4 separate regions of the Homo sapiens genome follow, and all the other regions are linked to region 1. The links are contacts of gene promoters, found by promoter capture Hi-C in blood cells and fetal thymus (Javierre and others, 2016). All regions are on one chromosome and are shown on one strand. Each heading gives the region's core, a stretch centred on a gene start or on the middle of the fragment in contact. The rest is flanking DNA. Distances are from core to core; before and after follow the strand shown. Region 1 holds the start of NKD1-AS1 (NKD1 antisense RNA 1). Region 2 has its middle 34 kb from the start of CNEP1R1. Region 3 overlaps HEATR3-AS1 (HEATR3 antisense RNA 1). Region 4 overlaps HEATR3 (HEAT repeat containing 3).

The links. The method cuts DNA at HindIII sites, captures the fragments that hold promoters and counts their contacts. A CHiCAGO score of 5 or more calls a contact.
Region 2: a fragment that was not itself captured here is called in contact with the fragment with the promoter of NKD1-AS1 in region 1 in 5 of 17 cell types (total CD8 T cells, total B cells, erythroblasts and 2 more); the score reaches 10.5 in total CD8 T cells.
Region 3: a fragment that was not itself captured here is called in contact with the fragment with the promoter of NKD1-AS1 in region 1 in 6 of 17 cell types (naive CD4 T cells, total CD8 T cells, non-activated CD4 T cells and 3 more); the score reaches 8.1 in naive CD4 T cells.
Region 4: a fragment that was not itself captured here is called in contact with the fragment with the promoter of NKD1-AS1 in region 1 in 5 of 17 cell types (total CD8 T cells, naive CD4 T cells, naive CD8 T cells and 2 more); the score reaches 8.5 in total CD8 T cells.

The regions. Positions count from the first base shown.
Region 1 is chr16:50,610,886-50,615,421 of GRCh38, reverse strand. NKD1-AS1 (NKD1 antisense RNA 1) reads left to right here and starts at 1,772. Exons shown (of 3, transcript XR_007065197.1): 1 at 1,772-1,831. All of the region lies in intron 4 of NKD1 (NKD inhibitor of Wnt signaling pathway 1), which reads right to left. The HindIII fragment of the contact is 2,641 bases long and covers 766-3,406 here.
Region 2 is chr16:49,988,729-49,993,264 of GRCh38, reverse strand. No RefSeq gene overlaps it. Among named protein-coding and RNA genes, the nearest start is that of CNEP1R1, 34 kb to the left of the region's middle. The HindIII fragment of the contact is 1,262 bases long and covers 1,338-2,599 here.
Region 3 is chr16:50,054,453-50,058,988 of GRCh38, reverse strand. All of the region lies in intron 2 of HEATR3-AS1 (HEATR3 antisense RNA 1), which reads left to right. It also overlaps the pseudogene ACTG1P16. Among named protein-coding and RNA genes, the nearest start is that of HEATR3, 9.2 kb to the left of the region's middle. The HindIII fragment of the contact is 174 bases long and covers 2,434-2,607 here.
Region 4 is chr16:50,082,313-50,086,848 of GRCh38, reverse strand. HEATR3 (HEAT repeat containing 3) reads right to left here. Exons shown (of 15, transcript NM_182922.4): 8 at 2,822-2,912; 9 at 2,558-2,715; 10 at 2,198-2,280; 11 at 498-634. Among named protein-coding and RNA genes, the nearest start is that of HEATR3-AS1, 18 kb to the right of the region's middle. The HindIII fragment of the contact is 2,772 bases long and covers 715-3,486 here.

The DNA of each region.
Region 1 (4,536 bases), core at 523-3,022:
TTATTACACCATCATTATATCACTCATTTAATCATCAGAATCTTCCATCAGCCCAATATCTATACCCTGAGATATATATGTCTATAGTGCAGTGTCTATCACACTATAGGTGCTGCATCATCAGCAGCATCATCAAAATGAAACAACGGTAAGTAGCAGAACCAGGATTTGAACCCAGAAGTTGTGGAACAAAGAGAACTAAATCCCAGTTTCCCAACTCCTCAACCACTGGCCTGTCCACTCTCTCAGACCACAATAGCTGACACCTGTTCCTGCCTGTCCAGCAATCCTTCTCCTCCTTCTGATGATAGCATCTGGCTTTCCTCCCCAGAGCTACTCATCCCCCACTCTCAGTCTATCTAGTTTATGGAGACTGATCCCACTCCAGGGTCACACTGCACTCAGTACCCCTACCTGACCCAGCTTGTTTCATCCTGAAGGCCACGTGGCTGGTCCTAGGTCAGTATGAAAGAAGAGTTTATGAAGAAGCTAATGAAGCTAGGCTTCTGGGCCCTCTCACCTACACGGGCCCTTTCCAAGTCAGGATGGGTCTTTGCAAGGTGTTTATGTGGTCATATGTGTTTGTATTTGTAACATTTTCCAAATTAGGCATTTTATCCTCAATCTATTAAGATTGTCATCTAACCATTCTGACATCCTTTGCCTGTGTGAGGTGATACTAGGGGAAATACAGGCATTTCTGGACATGAGCTAAGGAGAGACTGAGTTGGTGAGATATTTATTTTGGTTTGGCCCCAGAAAGCTTCAGGTCCCATAAAACCTAGATCTACCCTGGTCAAGTGACCAGTAAAGTGGTCAATAAAGTGAGTCCAACATGTGCAAGAACCCCTGTGACCTGGGAACTTTCTTCCACCTGACAGGGCTGTGCTCATAGGATGGGAGTGCCCAGAGCTGGGAACTGCCACCCTTGCCCCCTGTGGGGGAGAAGCCACCAGGGGACAGAGGGAGAGATGATGGAGAGGGAGAGAGAGGGGCAGCGAGCGAGACATGTGTGTGAATGTGTGAGTATACGTGTGTGTGTGAGTGTGTGTGTGTGCGTGCATGTGTCCATGACATGGTTTTAGCTCCAGAATCCAAACAGGCCTTTTTAGGCAAGATCTACCCTAGGATTTTTCAATTTCATGAGCCAAAAGTTTAAGTGAGTTTCCAAAAGAACCGAAAGAATCCTGACTTAACAAATCCGTCTCTCTGAGATCCTGCTTTTTAGGAAAAACCACCAGCACCAGCACCACAGCAGTAATTCACTCACCCAGGGCAGTCCCTCTAGGGTGATTTCCAGCTTTTTCACCTGTGGGTGTCTGCCCCTTCCTGAGACCAGAAATGCCACCAGGGACTTCTTCTCCACCATCCTGCCTCCCAGCTGCATTTTACTGCCACTAGATTTTGCTTATGGACCAATTGTAACTGAGGGGAAACAAAAAAGGGGGAAAAGCGGGTAGGGGAGGAAATCCTTCTCAACAAATAACATTCTGGCCTTTTTTTCCTCATCAGAGCATAAGGCTGGTGGCCACTCGGCTTTGACATCTGAACAGGATTGAGACGAAACATCTGTTCAGGGAGGGAGGGGGAAGCCCCGGGAGAGAAGGGGAAAGGGGAGAAAAAGCCTTCTGTGGGCTAAAAATATCACGTCCCTTCCACTCTCCCCCGCCCGCCCCCACCCAAGTTAAAACATGTGATGAAATTCGGCTTTTACAATCTAACCCCGAGCTACTTGAAACTATTAAAGCCTCTCCGGTATCTGACACAAGTCAGAATTTCCACTGTTCCAGCTGAGCTTTTATGAGGAGCAGACTTGAGAGAAACTGCCAAGGTAACAAAGTCCGCTTGTTCTCTGTCACCGCTGCAACTCAGCTTCTGGGGGGACTGTAGGGGAGTGGAGAGTCAGGGCCGCTGACACCCCCCGACAGGACAGGCTCTGAACTGAGGGAGAGGAGCCGGCGGGGCATGGGCACCTGCCCCTCCATCTGGGGGTCCCTGCTGCCTTCCCATGAACTCCTCTTCCTCCCAGCCTTCCTGGGAAGCCACCGCCAGCCCTGTGTATTGAGGAGCCTTGCCCGAGAGTCCCGGGCAATGTCCGTGGCTACTTCCTGAGAAGTCTTGACTCGCTCTCTCTCTCTGTTTCTTGCCCAACTGCTCCTTGAACCCCAAGCTCCAATCACCAGGTATCCCACGGCCTCCTCGGTACCTCTCCTTGGATGTTAAATGGGCATCTTGAACCCAACTGGTCCAAAAACGGGAGGCTTGATGGTCACCCGCCAAAACCTCCACCTCAGAAGTGACACCGCCAAATCCTTAGTTCCTGAAACCAAAAGTCTAAGATGCATCCCTGATCTCTCTCGTTCCCTCAACCCCCTTCTCACCAGCTCCAACCTCCAGCCCCATGGACCTCTCCCCAGCCCCAAGCTCCCAGGCTAGGCCAGCACCATCTCCTCTCGCCTGCGACCCTGCAGTCACCTCCTGGTTTCATTGCCCTCTTCCTCCCTGCCCATGGGCAGTCCCTCCCAGAAGCCAGAATTAACTTCTTAAAACAGAGGTCAGAATCCAGCAGTCACCCACCCAACCATCTGGGCAGAACCACGCAACCTAAGGGCGTGGTCCCACACTTGCCGACCACCCCACTCTCATTCCTGATGCCACATCGGCCTCCTTTTTGTTCTTCCCCAAACACCAAGTTCCCTCCACTCTGGGGTTCTGCTCACTCATAGCTGCTCTCCCCCTACATTCTTCCATGGCTGGCTCCTTCCTGGCATCTGCATCTCAGCTGAAACATCACCTTCTCAGAAAAGCCTCCTCACTCTACCTCTCCCTGGGTTTTACGTCTTAGCAGAGAACCACTACTAGAAACTTCCATGCTCCTTCGCAGATTTATGTATTCATCCCTGCCTCCCTCCTGTGAATGTCGTGACTGCTGGGCCTGCCTACCTTGCTCGTGCCTGTGAACCCAGGGCCCAGCAGAGCCCCTAGCTGCAGCAAATGCCCAGCACATACTGAATGGTGAGGAGTGAGGGGCCAGATTCTGTTCTCAGTCTGCTGTGTGACCCTGGACAGGTCACTTCCCTCTCTGGGCTTCAGTTTTCCAACTACAGATGAAAGGAAGTACAGGCCTCCCAAGTTCCTTTGCCCAACATCTGACCCCTGGGAGCCTGGACAGACTGGCCCAGGCCCCAACACAGGTACACAGGTCCTGCCTGAGAGGCCGGAGGGAGGGGTCACCTGCTTTCAGTGAGGCAGAGGGAGAGGTCACCTGCTTTCAGTGACTACAGGGTATTGACTTTCCTTCTTCAGTGAGTGTTTATTTATTGAGCACATACAGCATGCCAGACCCTACTCCAGGCACCAGGAGTACGGGGAGGCCTTTGGAGATTCTAACAGGATTAAAGAAGCTTTGCAAAGAGGTCCTCTTTGATCTGGGCTAGGTAAATGATTATAAACACGGGCTGACACCTCTTCAAGAAAACTGAACCCAGGAAACAAGAATCATGGCAGCTCAAGTGTGCTGGGCACTTACTCTGTACCAGGGCCACCCTTGCGACCTACATCCATCACCTCATTGTCTTCACAATAACCCTGGCAAAGAAGTGCTACAAGGAACCCAGTGAGGAAGTTGAGCCACAGGGAAGTGACTCACCCAAGGTCACACAGTGAGTGTGGGTAAGCCAGGCTGGAATGGGGTCTGAGCTGCGAATTCACAGGAAGTCAGAATCAAGGGAGGAGAGATGAGGAAGGCAAAGTTAGGGACCATTGCAGAGCTGAACAGGCCCCGAGCTCCCCGAGTGCTGCTCAGCCCCCACCAGGCCTCAGTCTTAACACTGCTCCCTGCTGGGCAGAACCACCAACTCCAGGCACATCCACCCTTGGGCTGAGGAAGCAGAGACCACCCCACGGGCTGCCACATGCGCACGCCAGGCCAGTGGGGAGAGGGCAGCAGGGCCAAAGCAAGGCCTGCCCTGGAAGCTGGGAGGCCTGGGCCTGGTCCCGAGGAGGAGGGGCTGCCTGACTTCAGTGGCTCTGAGCATCTCCTTTAGGGAAGCTGCAGAGCAGCCTTCCTAAAGATGCCGGAGAGTGGAGAAATAGAAACCAGGCACTTGAGGATGCGGAGAGACAACGAGCAAAGGCCCAGAGATGAGACACAGAGATAGCCAAGAAGCTGGGCGGGGGCAGCGTTCACCAGGTGAGAGGCAGGGGGGACCTGGAGAGAGGGAGATGGGAGAGGGGGATGAAGCAGTGGCTGCAGCACCCTCAGACACAGTGACTCCTGGAGGCCATGCAGGGGAACGTGGCCTGGCCACCCATTCTCCCCGTGGGGCCCAAGCCGCAGGCTGCGACTACCTGGAGTCCTGCCCAGCTGTGGGGGCAGGGAGGCTGGGTGTGCGCTGAAGGTGAGCATGGGGTCACCCCTCCCTGGTCCTCAGACCTCAGCTGGGTCAGCTGAGGAGGGGTCCCTCTCCCCTTCTCCCCACGAAAGCCTCACCTCACCAGCCCTGCCACGCCCAGCCAGCTCTCAGAGCTTGAGAC
Region 2 (4,536 bases), core at 719-3,218, 620 kb after region 1:
GAGGCAATCCTAGCTCACTGCAGCCTTGACTTCTGCAGCCCCTGCACCCCTACCACCTCACAAAGGGGGAGTTTGGGGAGGCCCAGGGGCACCTCAGATCCTCAGTTTTCCTACTCCTTGTGGGCCTCAGTTTCCCTAGATGAGAAACGGGCATGTTGACCCCAGAACTCAGGGAGATCCAGCAGCTGCTCAGGGTCCCTCCGGCCTCCCCTGCGGCCTGCGGGCTTGTCCGCTTGATTTCCCATCTTGGCACGTGCTCCCCACGTGTAGGCTGGTGCCATCTGGGTCAGCCCTTGGGAGAATGTGGCTGCCTCCATTCCTAACCTCCTTCAATATTTATGGAGGCAGTGAATTTGGGGATTATACCCGGCTTCTGGAGTCAGACCTAGATGTGAATCTGGTTGGACCACTGCTGAGCTGTGTGACCCAGGGCAAGGCACTTTACCTCCTTGTGCATCTGTTTTCTCATCCCTAAAATGGGGATAATAACAGAACGTACCTGTAGGACTTTTTGGTGGTTAAATGAGTTAATATGGATAAAGGTTTGGATCAGAGTGAACCTTCTGATGCACCGTTATCCACCTGCCTCCACTTCCCTGCCTGTCACCACAGTTATAATCTTGCTTCTGTGTTTACTTAATCACTGTTTCGACTGCTTAACGTTTGATGAATACTTTTTCCACAAGAAGCAGGACAGAGCAAAGACAACTTTGCTCACCCTGTATCCCAGCACCTAGCAGGTGTCTGAGTGGAGGAGTCTGAGGCAAGTTTGGCCAGGCTAGGTGGTAAGAAGTGAGTTTGACGGTTCTACATCAGTCTGAAAGAAGAATTTCAACAAGTACTGTAGTCCCTCCTATCCATGGTTTTGTTTTCCTCCATTTAAGTCAGTCAACCTCGGTCTGAAAATATTAAGATAATTTGGCTGGGTGCAGTGGCGCAAGCCTGTAATACCAGCACTTTGGGAGGCCGAGGCGGGTGGACCACCTGAGGTCAGGAGTTTGAGACCAGCCCGGCCAACATGGTGAAACCCCCTCTCTACTAAATACAAAAAATTAGCAGGGTGTGGCAGCGCATTCCTGTAATCCCAGCTACTTGGGAGGCTGAGGCAGGAGAATCACTTGAACCTGGGAGGCAGAGGTTTCAGTGAGCCGAGATTGCACCATTGCACTCCAGCCCGGGCAACAATAGCAAAACTCCATCTCAAAAATAGATATAGATAGATAATTTGGGAGAGAGAACACATTCACATAACTTTTATTATAGTATATTGTTATAATTGTTCTCTTTTATTATTGTTGTTGTTAATCTCTTACTGTGCCTAATTTATAAATTAAGCTTTATCATAGTTAATGTGGGTATAGGAAAAATAATAGTATTTTTATTTTTTATTTTATTTTATTTTTTTACAGAATCATAGGCTTCAGTACTATCCATGGTTTGAAGTATCCACTGGGGGTCTTGGAACATATCACTTTGGGGGACTGTTGTATAGGAGGGTTGGGTCTGATACGGAAGCTCAGTCTCCAGGGAAAATCAGTTAAGGTCAGTATTACCATTGAAGGACATGGGTTCTTGAAAGCCCCACACCTTTTTTAAATTTTAATTTTTATATATGTATTTATTTTTGGTTATCTTTGTATTTCAGCTTTGTCCCAGTCCCAGGGGCAGTGGAGGTCAAGAGTTGTTTTGCAAGGTAAATGCCTCCTGTGGGGCTTTCCCATAATGAAAGGATGAGAGAGAAAAGATGCAACCTGACATTTGGTGTTGGCTGGCTGGCTTGCTTTCTTGTCTTCTCTCTTTCTCTTTCTCCTTCTCTTCCTATAAACTAAATGAGCTAAATCAGAGCAAGACACAATCTTGCTCTGCTACCCAGGCTGCAATGCAGTGGCACGATCATAGCTCACTGTAGCCTCTACCTCCTGGGCTCAAGCGAGCCTCCCACCTCAGACTCTTAGGTAGCTAGGACCACAGGCATGAGCCACCATGCCCAGCTAATTTATATGTGTGTGTGTGTGTGTGTGTGTAGCTGGGGTTTTGTGTGTGTGTGTGTGTAGCTAGGGTTTCCCTATGTTGCCCAGGCTGGTCTGGAACTCCCAGCTTCAAGTGACTCTCCCTCCTTAGCTTCCCAAAGTACTGGGATTACAGGCATGAACCACTGTGCCCAGCCTAGTGTTGGCCTTCTAATGGTTCTCTCAGTTAATATTGAGAATGCACTGAAATCCCCAGCACTTGCTCTGGGGCAGGTGACTTCTAGCTTCTAGAGTGAGGTCTCATCCTCCCAGTTGCCATGGCAGTGAGCTGACATGGGGTGGGGGCCCTATTCCCAAGCTCTTGGTGGAAAAAAAATGAATTTCCCTCTTGTACCTTTGTAAGTTGACAGTAAAGTATTTTTCATTATACTCCTAAAGAGTTATAAAGGATATCATTACCATCCTATCCTGTATGTATTGTATGTATGTTTTAACTATATTTTAAGCAAAATCTAGGAGTTATAGATTGTTCATTTAGTGTGTGGAAATTGTCTGGCAAAGCACCTCACTGGCCAACATGGGCCTCAATGTGTAATCCAGAAGTCTGACTTCATTTTATTAAAAAAGCTTTATGTTTTAGTGAGGTATAATTTACATATCACAAAATTCACTCATTTTAAATTTAACAATTTTTAGTAAACTTATATTAATCACTGCCACAATCAATTTTAGATTATTTCTTTTATTATTATCAATTTTTTAAGCACCAGTTTGCTATTGAAATAACATTTTCATCAAACCAAAAAGATGCCCTGAGCCTATTTTCAGTCAGTCACTCCCCATTTCACCCCAGGCAACCAATGATCTACTTTCTTTTTCTATGAATTCACCTTTTCTGGCTATTTCATATAAATGGAATCATAAACATATAATACGTAGCGTTTTATGACTGGCTTTCATTTCAGCACGTTTTGAAGTTCAGCCACCTGGTAGCATGTATCAATACTTAATTCCTTTTTATTGGTGAATAGTATAATATTTCATTGTATGGATATACTACATTTTTTTTCTTTTCTTTTTTCTTTTCTCTTGGCCTCTTGAGTAGCTGGGGCTAAGGTGCATGCCACCATGCCTGGCTAATTTTTTAATTTTTCATAGAGATGGGGTCTCATTATATTGCCCAGGCTGGTCTTGAATTCCTGGCCTCAAGCAATCCTCCCAACTCAGCCTCCTGAGTAGCTGGGACTATAGGTGTGAGCCACCATGCCTGGCTATGTTTAACATTTTAAGAATCTGCCAAACTGCTTTTCAAAATGGCTATGGCATTTGACATTCCCACCGGCAATGCATGAGTTCCAGTTTCTCCACATCTCACCAACACTTGTTTTTATTGTAGCCATTTTAGTAGGTGTGAAGAGCTATCTTATCGTAGGTTTTTTTTTTGTCTCTTTTTTATTTTGATGAAATGCACAGAACATAAAATTTGCCATCTTAACTGTTTTTTTTTTCTTTTTTCTTTTTTTTTTAGATGGAATCTCACTCTGTTGCTCAGGCTGGAGTACAGTGGTGCAATCTTGGCTTACTGTAACCTCTGCCTCCCGGGTTCAAGTGATCCTCCTGCCTCAGCCTCCTGGGCAGCTGAGATCATACCAGGCTAATTTTTTTTTTTTGTATTTTTAGTAAAGATGGGGTTTCACCATTTTGGCCAGGCTGATCTTGAACTCCTGACCTCAAGTGATCCACCCACTTCGGATTACAGGCGTGTAATCCACCGTGCCCGGCAATCCAAAATGCTGGGATTACAGGTGTGAGCCACTGTGCCCGGCAATCTTAACCATTTTTAAGTGTACAGCTCAGTAGTGCTAAGTATATTCACATTGTTGTGAGCGATCACCAGAACTTTTTCATCTTGCAAAACTGAGGCTTGTCATTCGTTAAACAACTCCCTACCTTCTTTCCCTTTGGTCACTGGCAGCCACCATTCTACTTTCTGTTTCTGTGATTTTGTCTACTCTAGATATCTCATATAGTGGATTTTTAGTTCCTAGTTGCTTATTTTCCTTCTCTCCAGTCTAAGGGAATATTCTGCCAATACTCTCTTGATCTTCTGTAGATGATTTTATTGACTTAAACTTGTTTTTTGTTTTTGTTTTTTTTTGCAGAGAAATAGAGTTGGGGTGGTGTTTTTGGGTTGTCATTAGCTGGTCTTCATTGTTATGGTTGTTTGAAAATTGGCTAAAATGGGGTGTGGGGGGGTTGGAAGCAAGCATTGTGACTTGTAAAGCTTTCTGTGTTATTAATATTGTGAAAATGGTCTTCTAATTTAATCCTAAACAATAACCAATTTGTTTCTTTAGGACTTAAGATGTCTTCATTGGTCAGGCTTCACAGAGAACAATATGGCAACCTTCAGTAGCTACAGTGAATTTTTTTTTTTTTGAGATGGCATCTCTCTCTGTTGCCCAGGCTAGAGTGCAGTGACATGATCTCGGCTCACTGCAACCTCCGCCTCCTGGGTTCAAGTGATTCTCCTGCCTCAGCCTCCCGAGTAGCTGGGACTACAGGC
Region 3 (4,536 bases), core at 1,271-3,770, 560 kb after region 1:
TGACATGGAGAAGATCTGGCACCACACCTTCTACAACAAACTGCGTGTGGCCCAGAGGAGCACCCAGTGCTGCTGACTGAGGCCCCCCTGAACCCCAAGACTAGCAGAGAGAAGATAACTTGGATCATGTCTAAGACCTTCAACACCCTGGCCATGTGTGTGGCCATCCATGCCGTGCTGTCCCTCTAGTGCTCTGGGCACACCAGTGGCATTGTCACAGACTCTGGAGATGGGGTCGCCCACACGGTGCCCATCTCCCCTAACCAACTACCTCATGAAGATCCTCACCGAGTGTGGCTACAGCTTCACCTGTAGCTTCACCCCACGGCCGAGTGGGAGATCGTGCGTGACATCAAGGAGAAGCTGTGCTACGTTACCCCGGACATCAAGCGGGAGCTGGCCACCGCCGTGTTCTCGTCCCTGGAGAAGAGCTATGAGCCACCCGACGGCCAGGTCATCACCATCTGCAGCCAGTGGGTCTGGTGTCCAGAGGCAACTTTCCAGCTTTCTTTCCTGGGCATGGAACCCCCGGCATCCACAAGACCACCTTCAGTTCCATCGTAAAGTGTGACGTGGACATCCACAAATACCTGTAGGCCAAGATGATGCTGTCCTGCGGCACCACCGTGTACCTGGACATCACGGGCAGGATGCAGGAGATCACCACTCTGGCGCCCAGCACCATGAAGATCACAATCATCGAGTCCCCTGAGCACAAGTACATGGTGTGGATTGGCGGCTCCATCCTGGCCTCCCTGTCTACCTTCCAGCAGATGTGGATTAGCAAGCAGGAGTACGAGGAGTCAGCCCCCTCCATCATCCACCGCAAATGCTTCTAAATGGACTGCGAGCAGATGCCTAGCATTTGTGGCGTGGATTAATTCAGAAGAATAAATTTGCCCCTGGCAAATGCATACACCCCATGCTAGCCTCATGAAACTGGAATAAGCCTTCAAAAAGAAATTCGTCCTTGAAGCTTGTATCTGATATCAGCACTGGATTGTAGAACTTGTTGCTGATTTTGACCTCATATGCAAGTTAACTGTTCCCTTGGTATTTGTTAAGTATTCTGTACATATCTTGGATCTCAACCCTTAGTACATGTGGCTTGGTCACTTTGTGGCTGAGGTAAGAACGTGCTTGTGGAAGACAAGTCCATGGCTTGGTGGGTCTGCGTGGCCAGCAGTCTCCCACGAGTGCAGGGTGTTAATGTGTTAGGGCTGAGTGTTCTGGGATTTCTCTAGAGGCTGGCAAGGGCTCCTGAACCAGTTGTTTCTGTTCTGCTGGTCTGTCAGGGTTGGAAAGTCCAAGCCATAGGACCCAGTTTCCTTTCTTAGCTGATGTTTTCCTGCCGGAATACCATGGCTGTTACTTGCCTTGAGTTGGAAGTGGTTTGCATTTACACCTGTAAATGTATTCATCCCTTTAATTTACGTAAGGTTTGTGTGTGTGTGTGTGTGTGTGTGTGTGTGTGTGTATGCAATTCTCAATTCTTTAAGAGATGACAACAAATTTTGGTTTCTTACAGTTATGTGAGAACATTAGGCCCCAACAACACGAGTGCGTAAGGAAAAATAAAAGTGCTGATGAAAAAGAAAAAAAGAAAAATTATCCAAAACTTGGAAATAAGCAAAAAGGATAGCTGCACATTTTTTCTGTTTCTTTTCTTTATATATGTTTTTTAAATCTTTTTTTGAGACAGGGTCTTGCTCTCTTGCCCAGGCTGGAATGCAGTGGTGTGGTCTTGGCTCACTGCAACTTTCACCTCCTGGGCTCTAGCCATCCTCCCACCTCAGCCTTCCGAGTAGCTAGGACTACAGGTGCCCACCACCATGCCCAGCTGATTTTTTTTTTTTTTTGTAGAGATGGGGTTTCACCATGTTGCCTAGACTGGTCTCGAACTCCTGAGTTCAACTGATCTGCATGCCTCAGCCTCCCAAAGTCCTGGGATTAAAGGCATGAGCCACTGCACCTGACCTGCATATTTTTTTCAATATTACATTGTCCCAATGTCTAACAGACCCATGAAATGATTATTTCTCTAAGGCAGTACCATCAAGCAGAGTTTTCCACAAAGAGGAAAATGTTCTCTGCCTGCCCTGCCCAGTAGAGTAGCTACTAGCCAAACATGGCTATTTTGTTGTTGTTGTTTTATTTTTTTATTTTCTTTTTTTTTGTAGAGATGAGGTCTCTCACCCTGTTGCCCAAGCTGGTCTTAAACTTTTGCCCTCATGCAATCCTCCTGACTTGACCTACCAAAGTGCTGAGATTACAGGAGTGAGCCACTGCACTTGGCCCACAATTGGCTACTGAACACTTGAAGTAAGGCTACTGCTAGGAACTAAATTTTCAATTTTGGTTAATTAAAAACATTTTTTGTTGTTGATGCCTGCCCAATTTTCCAACAAGCCAGATGTCCATAGAACTGAAGCTTGAGAAACGTACGTTTCTTCTGTGGGATGCCCCTGCTGCCTGTTGACCAACTCCTCTTCCTTGCTGCTCCTGTTATCCTCCCATGATGTGTAAACACCTACCTTTAGTCAGGGAGGAGGAATGGATTTGAGGTTTATTTCCGGTCTCTCCCAGTGATGTCACCTGAAGAAAGCTTTCTTCCCTGCAATACTTGTTGTCTCAGTGATTGGCTTTCTGTATATCAAGCCTAGGACCTAGACTGAACCCCTGGTGTTCATTAACATTATGACATTAAAAAGTAAATAAAAATAAAATAAAAATAAAAATAAATAGCTACACGTGACTAGATGCGATGCATTTGTAAAGTGCAACTCTAAAGCAGTGCGTCTGACCTGGGGGCAATTTTGCCTCCCTGTGGGACATTTGGCAATGTCTGGAGACATTTTGGTTGTCACAACTGTGGGGGTGCTACTAGCATCTAATAGGTAGAGGTGGGTACCACTGACAGTGTGGGCTGGATAATTCTCTGTTGTGGAGGTTGCCAGTCTGGGCTGGATAATTCTTTGTTGTGGAGGCTGTCCTGTGCATTGTACAATGTTTTAACAGCACCCCTGGCCTCTACCCACCAGATGCCACTAACACTCCCCAGTGGTGACAACCAAACATGTCTTTGGCCATTGCCAAATGTCCTCTGGGAGGCAAAATCACCTTTAGTTGAGAATCATTGCTCTAGAGAAATATATGTTTTTGTTTGACTGACCATTTACTTAGGGGCCTAGACTCTATGAAATTAGATGTGAATTTATATATGAATAAATTGCAAATGATTTTGATTTTGTCCAGTTGAGATGCAAATTATTTCTGTCCAGCAGAAAAGATAACCCCAAAGGATAGAATTTCGTTGCCCTGTAGAATATTAACCAGTTTCATATCTAACCTAGAAATCCCATTTAAATACATTTTTCCACACTGACTATATAAATTTCTGTTTCTCTGTTGAACCAGTTTTACCATCCTCCCAGTTCCTTCATTAAAGAACATGTACATGCTCACCCTATGTGTATACGAAGGTCAAAATTTTAACTTGAAAACCATCCTTTGATACTGTTTATCCATAAGGAAAGAAAGGTGTTCACCAGGCACTATGAAGTAAAAAGGCAGGTTACAAAGCAGCATAAATAGCATAATCACACTTTTGGAAACACACAAAACAGAGAAAAACTCATGGAAGTATATATACCTGGACCTTTCACATTTGTAAAAATGGAAAAAAAAAAAAACCGAAACAAAGCGTATGTACCAAAATGTTTCCTGTGTTTGCCTCTGGGCAGAATTAAAGGAGATATATATATATAGATATATATAGATATATATATAGATATAGATATAGATATATATAGATATAGATATAGATATAGATAGATATAGATATATATAGATAGATATAGAGATATATAGATAGATATATCTATATAGATATCTCTATATCTATCTATATATATCCATATATCTATATCTATATCTATATCTATATCTATATATATTTTTTTTCAGATGGAGTTTCGCTCTTGTTTCCCAGACTGGAGTGCTGGAGCGCAGCAGTGTGATCTCAGCTCACTGCAACCTCCGCCTCCCAGGTTCAAGTGATTGTCCTGCCTCAGCCCCCCGAGTAGCTGGGACTGCAGGCACGTGCCACCACGGCCAGCTACATTTTGTATTTTTAGAGACAGGGTTTCACCGTGTTGGCCAGGCTGGTCTCCAACTCCTGACCGCAGGTGATCCACCCACCTTGGCCTCCCAAAGTGTTGGGATTACAGGCGTGAGCCACCACGCTGGGCCAGATACTTTTTAAAAAGTCTGATTATTGCCCTGTTTGTATTTTCTGGGTTTTCCAAAATGATTGGGTAGTACTTACATAATTTTTTAAATTATGAAATTTTTTTAGAAGAAATACGATGCAATTCTGGCCTCCTCCACACAGTCCCCATCCTTTTCTATTTCCCACATGCCCACCTGTGACCCCCCAGTGGCTGCCTTTGGCTCTCAGAAGACTCATTTGGTATCTGGACACCAGGTTAGTTGCAGCACAAGTATTTCATGTAGTACAAAGATCTTACATTTGTA
Region 4 (4,536 bases), core at 851-3,350, 530 kb after region 1:
CAAGCGATTCTCCTGCCTCAGCCTCCCGAGTAGCTGGGATTACAGGCATCTCCACCACCACGCCCAGTTAAAGTTTTGTATTTTAGTAGAGCGGTTTCATCATGTTGGCCAGGCTGGTCTCCAACTCCTGACCTGAGGTGATCCTCCCGCCTCGGCCTCCCAAAGTGCTGGGACTACAGGCATGAGCCACCGTGCTTGGCTGAGAATTATCCAAATACCTTAATGAGGCCTTTATGATATTTATGATACAGCCTTGACTGGCCTGATATAACTGGATGCAAACAATTTTAACAAAAAAGAAAATTATAAGCCCAGGAGCTGCTTGCATACCTCGTTTTGACTCTGTACCCCATGGCAACTATAAATACATGATTCCTGTGTCTGGGAAAGGTTTCTGCACATTGGATGACAAACAATATACATTTACAAAATCCAAATTCCTGCCCCTTCAAAATTCTGTTCCGTCTGCGTAGTCTTTCGCAATAAAGTCTAAATACCTGGTTGAGAAAAAAGCAGCTGTGACAGATGCTGTGCAAGCGTCTGAAGGGCTGCGGCTCCTCCCAGGTGCTCCACATCCAGGAGGGACACAAGACTCTGGAGACAGAAGAGGGCTCTGCACTGAATAGTGTTCATTCTGGAAAGGAAGTGAAACAATGCCATCTGATTCTCCAGAAGTTGCCCATCAGAATTCAGTATTAACTTTTAGCCTAAGCTTCACGTTCTGACTGGAAATATCTGTAAATACAAGGTATCTATGGCAGTTAGCAAAGAATCACAAGGTGAACTGTTTTTTGTGTTTTCTAAAATTTATCATCATTTTTTAGACAGGGTCTTACTCTGTTGCCCAGGCTGGAGTGCAGTGGTGTGATCACAGCTCGCTGTAGCCTCAACCTCCTGAGCACAAGTGATCCTCCTGCCTCAGCCTCCTAAGGAGCAGGATTACATGTGCATGCAACCACACCTGGCTAAGTTTTTTATTTTTTGTAGATAGGGGTCTTGCTATGTTGCCCAGGCTGCTCTGGAACTCTTGGCCTCAAACAATCCTCCTGCCTGTACCTTCCAAAGTGCTAGAATTATAAGGTGAACTGTTAATCTGCCAAATCAAACTGCTTGAATATTCACGGCCTCTGATACACAACTCATTCATGAGTCATGAGGAATATGTTTTAGAAAAATTTCTATGTAGGGTAGCATCCTTAAAATTATAATTTTCTTCAGACAGGGTCTCATTCTGTTTCCCAGGCTGGAGTACAGTGTCACCATCATAGCTCACTACAGCCTTAGACTGCTGAGCTCAAGCAATCCTCCCACTTCAGCCTCCTAAGTAGCTAGGACTACAGCTGAGTGCCACTATGCCAGGCTAATTTTTGTATTTTTTTTTCCTTTGTAGAGATGGGGTCTTGCTATGCTGCCCAGGCTGGTTTCAAACTCCTGGCCTCAAGTGATCCTCCTACCTTGGCCTCCCAGAGTCCTGGGATTATAGGTGTGAGCCACCATGCCCAGCCTAAAATTATTTTTAATTGTGAAATGTGACATATATACAGTTAAGTACACAACATACATAGAGAGTTTAACAAACAGTCTATGAAACCAAAACCCATGCACCTGGGAAAGAAATTAACACTGCTGGACCCTGAAAGCCCCTGTATCTCTTCCATATAATATCCCACCTCCCTGACACCTACAGGTAAGCACCATACAGACTTCTATGGTAAACATTTCCTTGCCTCTTTTTTTTTTTAATAGGTTTATCACCAAGGTATGCATCCCTGAACAAAATAGTTCAATGTTGCCTGTTTCTCAACTTTGTAAAAACTGAATCACAGTGTGTGTATTCTTTTATGTCTCGCTTTTTTGGTTCAACAATGTAAGTTCCATCCGAGTTGTGAGTAGCTCTAATTCAGATCCCTTTTACTGCTGCATGTATTGTACTGCGTGATTTTGTCAAAATTTATTTACCATTCTAACTCTGATGGACAACACGTTTGTTTATGGGTTGGGGCAACTGTGACACACACTGCTATGAACACTCTCATATACATGTATTCTAGGGCATGTGGGCACATATTTTTCTGGTATATATACCCAGGAACAAAACTTCTGGGTCCTAGGGGGAGTCAGCACCTTCTATTTAATAGCCCATCATTTCATAAAATAAAATAATGACAAATGTTTTTGAAAGCAGAAGAGTTCTTACTTTCTAATCAAAGGTTTCCAAGTAGGGTTCCTAGAACATAGGTCAACTGCAATGCTGTTTGGAAAGGCAGTTTTCTCAAAAATCTAGATTTAAAAGAGGCAGTAAAGCAAAGGTTAAAGAGTAGTCATTTAACACGATTCCCTTACATAATTCCAACATATTACTCCTAAGTGAAATGGTTAGGCTTCATATAGAATGACCTTTTCGCCTATTTCCAGTACTGTTAGGCTCAGCTTTGTCTCAGATCTTACCACCATCTACAACCTGGAAGTGTGAGCTTGCTTCTTTTGTACACAAAATGAATACCTTGCTTAAGCCTTTCCCATGCTCCACGGTAAGCCTAGAATGAAAATGGATTACCTTCTTTGGGATGAGGTAGTTGGTGAGAGCCGTGTGAACTTCATGGGAGAGGCAGAGGGGAGAAAACAGCTGTCCCCCGCACTCACTGAAGGAATTCTCCATAAATGCGTCACTTTCATCACTGCTAGAAAGCTCTTCCCATTCGTCATCAGAGGGATCTGGGAAGCGGGCAAACCACGCAGAACTGGAATAGTTAAGAAAATCTCCACGGGAGTTTCCCTCTTGGCTCAGGGGGAAAATGTCTAAATGTAAATGTTAACAAACCTTCATTGCAGCACATGTTGACAATAATTTCCAGAGCAGTCTGTTGGGCTGTCAGCAATGCTATAGTCTCTCTCAGTTCCTTGTCAGTGGGCTTAAAAAAAAAAAAAAAAGTAAATGACCAACTCTCAATGGTTGGGAAAATGTTTTTGGGGAATTTCCTTAGTGAAAGCCTACTAGAAGATTTTTGCGCTTGGAATAGAGCACACGGGGAATGGGGTAGGTAAAAGAAAAGTCATGAAGTGCCAGAAGTACAAACGAGCATTATAATTCCTCTTGGTACAGTGGAGCATGCCCCCGTTAACTGGGTTTCCATCTATCTGCATGGCTATTCCCCAAGCGTCACTTAGTTAGCTGGAGAGAACAGACAAATATTCAGGAATTCTGAACAGAATTCACCCTGAAACTTATCTACTGTGTCAAGAAGTAGCTGGGCATACTAAGATTTAAACAAGAGTTCATTTCAGACACCAGGCACTTAGAAACACCAAACCTGCTTTTAGATGCTTAGCTTAGATGTCTTTCTTGGAATGGCTGCGCTAACACACACTACTAACGAGCCCTTATGTGACCTGTAGAACTTGCTATGGAGCAGACAGACTTGCTTCCTGCCTTTCTGTAAAGACTATAATAAAGCATTTCTCTAAGACTAAAGAAAGAAGGAAGCTTTTTTTTTCTCTGAAAATATATAACGCCAACTTAAACTTAACATTATCAACCAACATTTCTTAAAATGGGTAATATAAATTTATATAACCTTAATTATCAAATTGTCTATGGAAAGTGAAATAACCATACTGATATTCCAAAACAGTACATGAGCTAAAAATAATGTATATTTTACTATTTGAATATTTCCAAACTTCAGTTTTCAATTGTCTTTTTTTTTCCCCCTTAGAGACAGAGTCTCACTCTGTTGCCTAGGCTGGAGTGCAGTGGCACGTTCATAGCTCACTGCAGCCTCAAATTCCTGGACTCAAGCAATCCTCTTGCCGCAGCCTCTGAGTAGCTAGGGCTACAGGTGCATGCCACCATGCCTGGCTAATTTTTTTAATTTTTGTAGAGACAAGGTCTTAGCCAGGCATGGCGGTGCATGCCTGTAATCCCAGCTACTTGGGAGGCCAAGGCAGGAGAATCCCTTGAACCCAGGAGGCAGAGGTTGCAGTGAGCCGAGATTGTACCACTGTGCAACAGAGTGAGACTCCATCTCAAAAAAAAAGAAAAAAAGAAAAAGAAAAAGAAAAAAAATTTACCTGCTTTTTTTTTTTTTTTTGAGAGATGGGGTCTCAGTATATTGCCCAAGCTGGTCTTGAAATCCTGACCTCAAGTAATCCTCCCACCTCAGCCTCCCAAAAGTGTTGAGATTACAGGCATGAGCACCATGTCCAGCCCCAGTGGCTTCTTTGTGCAACAATTTAACTGTAACTTCTAAGCATATTCTTAAAAAAAAAAAAAGCAAATTGCTAATTCAATAGACGTAGCTCAGGGATCCCTAAATTTGAATTCTACTTATTGGTAGCAAGAACCTATATAAAAATCATTTCTATTTGCTTTGTGTGTGTGCTAATTCAACTAAATATACATTTATTAGAGGAGATTCAAAGCTAAACAAGACATGTTGCTGCTGGGCTCTCATTCACTTAAAATATACGAAAATCTGGCTTATTCTTTTTTATTCTTTTTTTTTGGAGACAGAGTCTTGCTCTGTCACTCAGGCT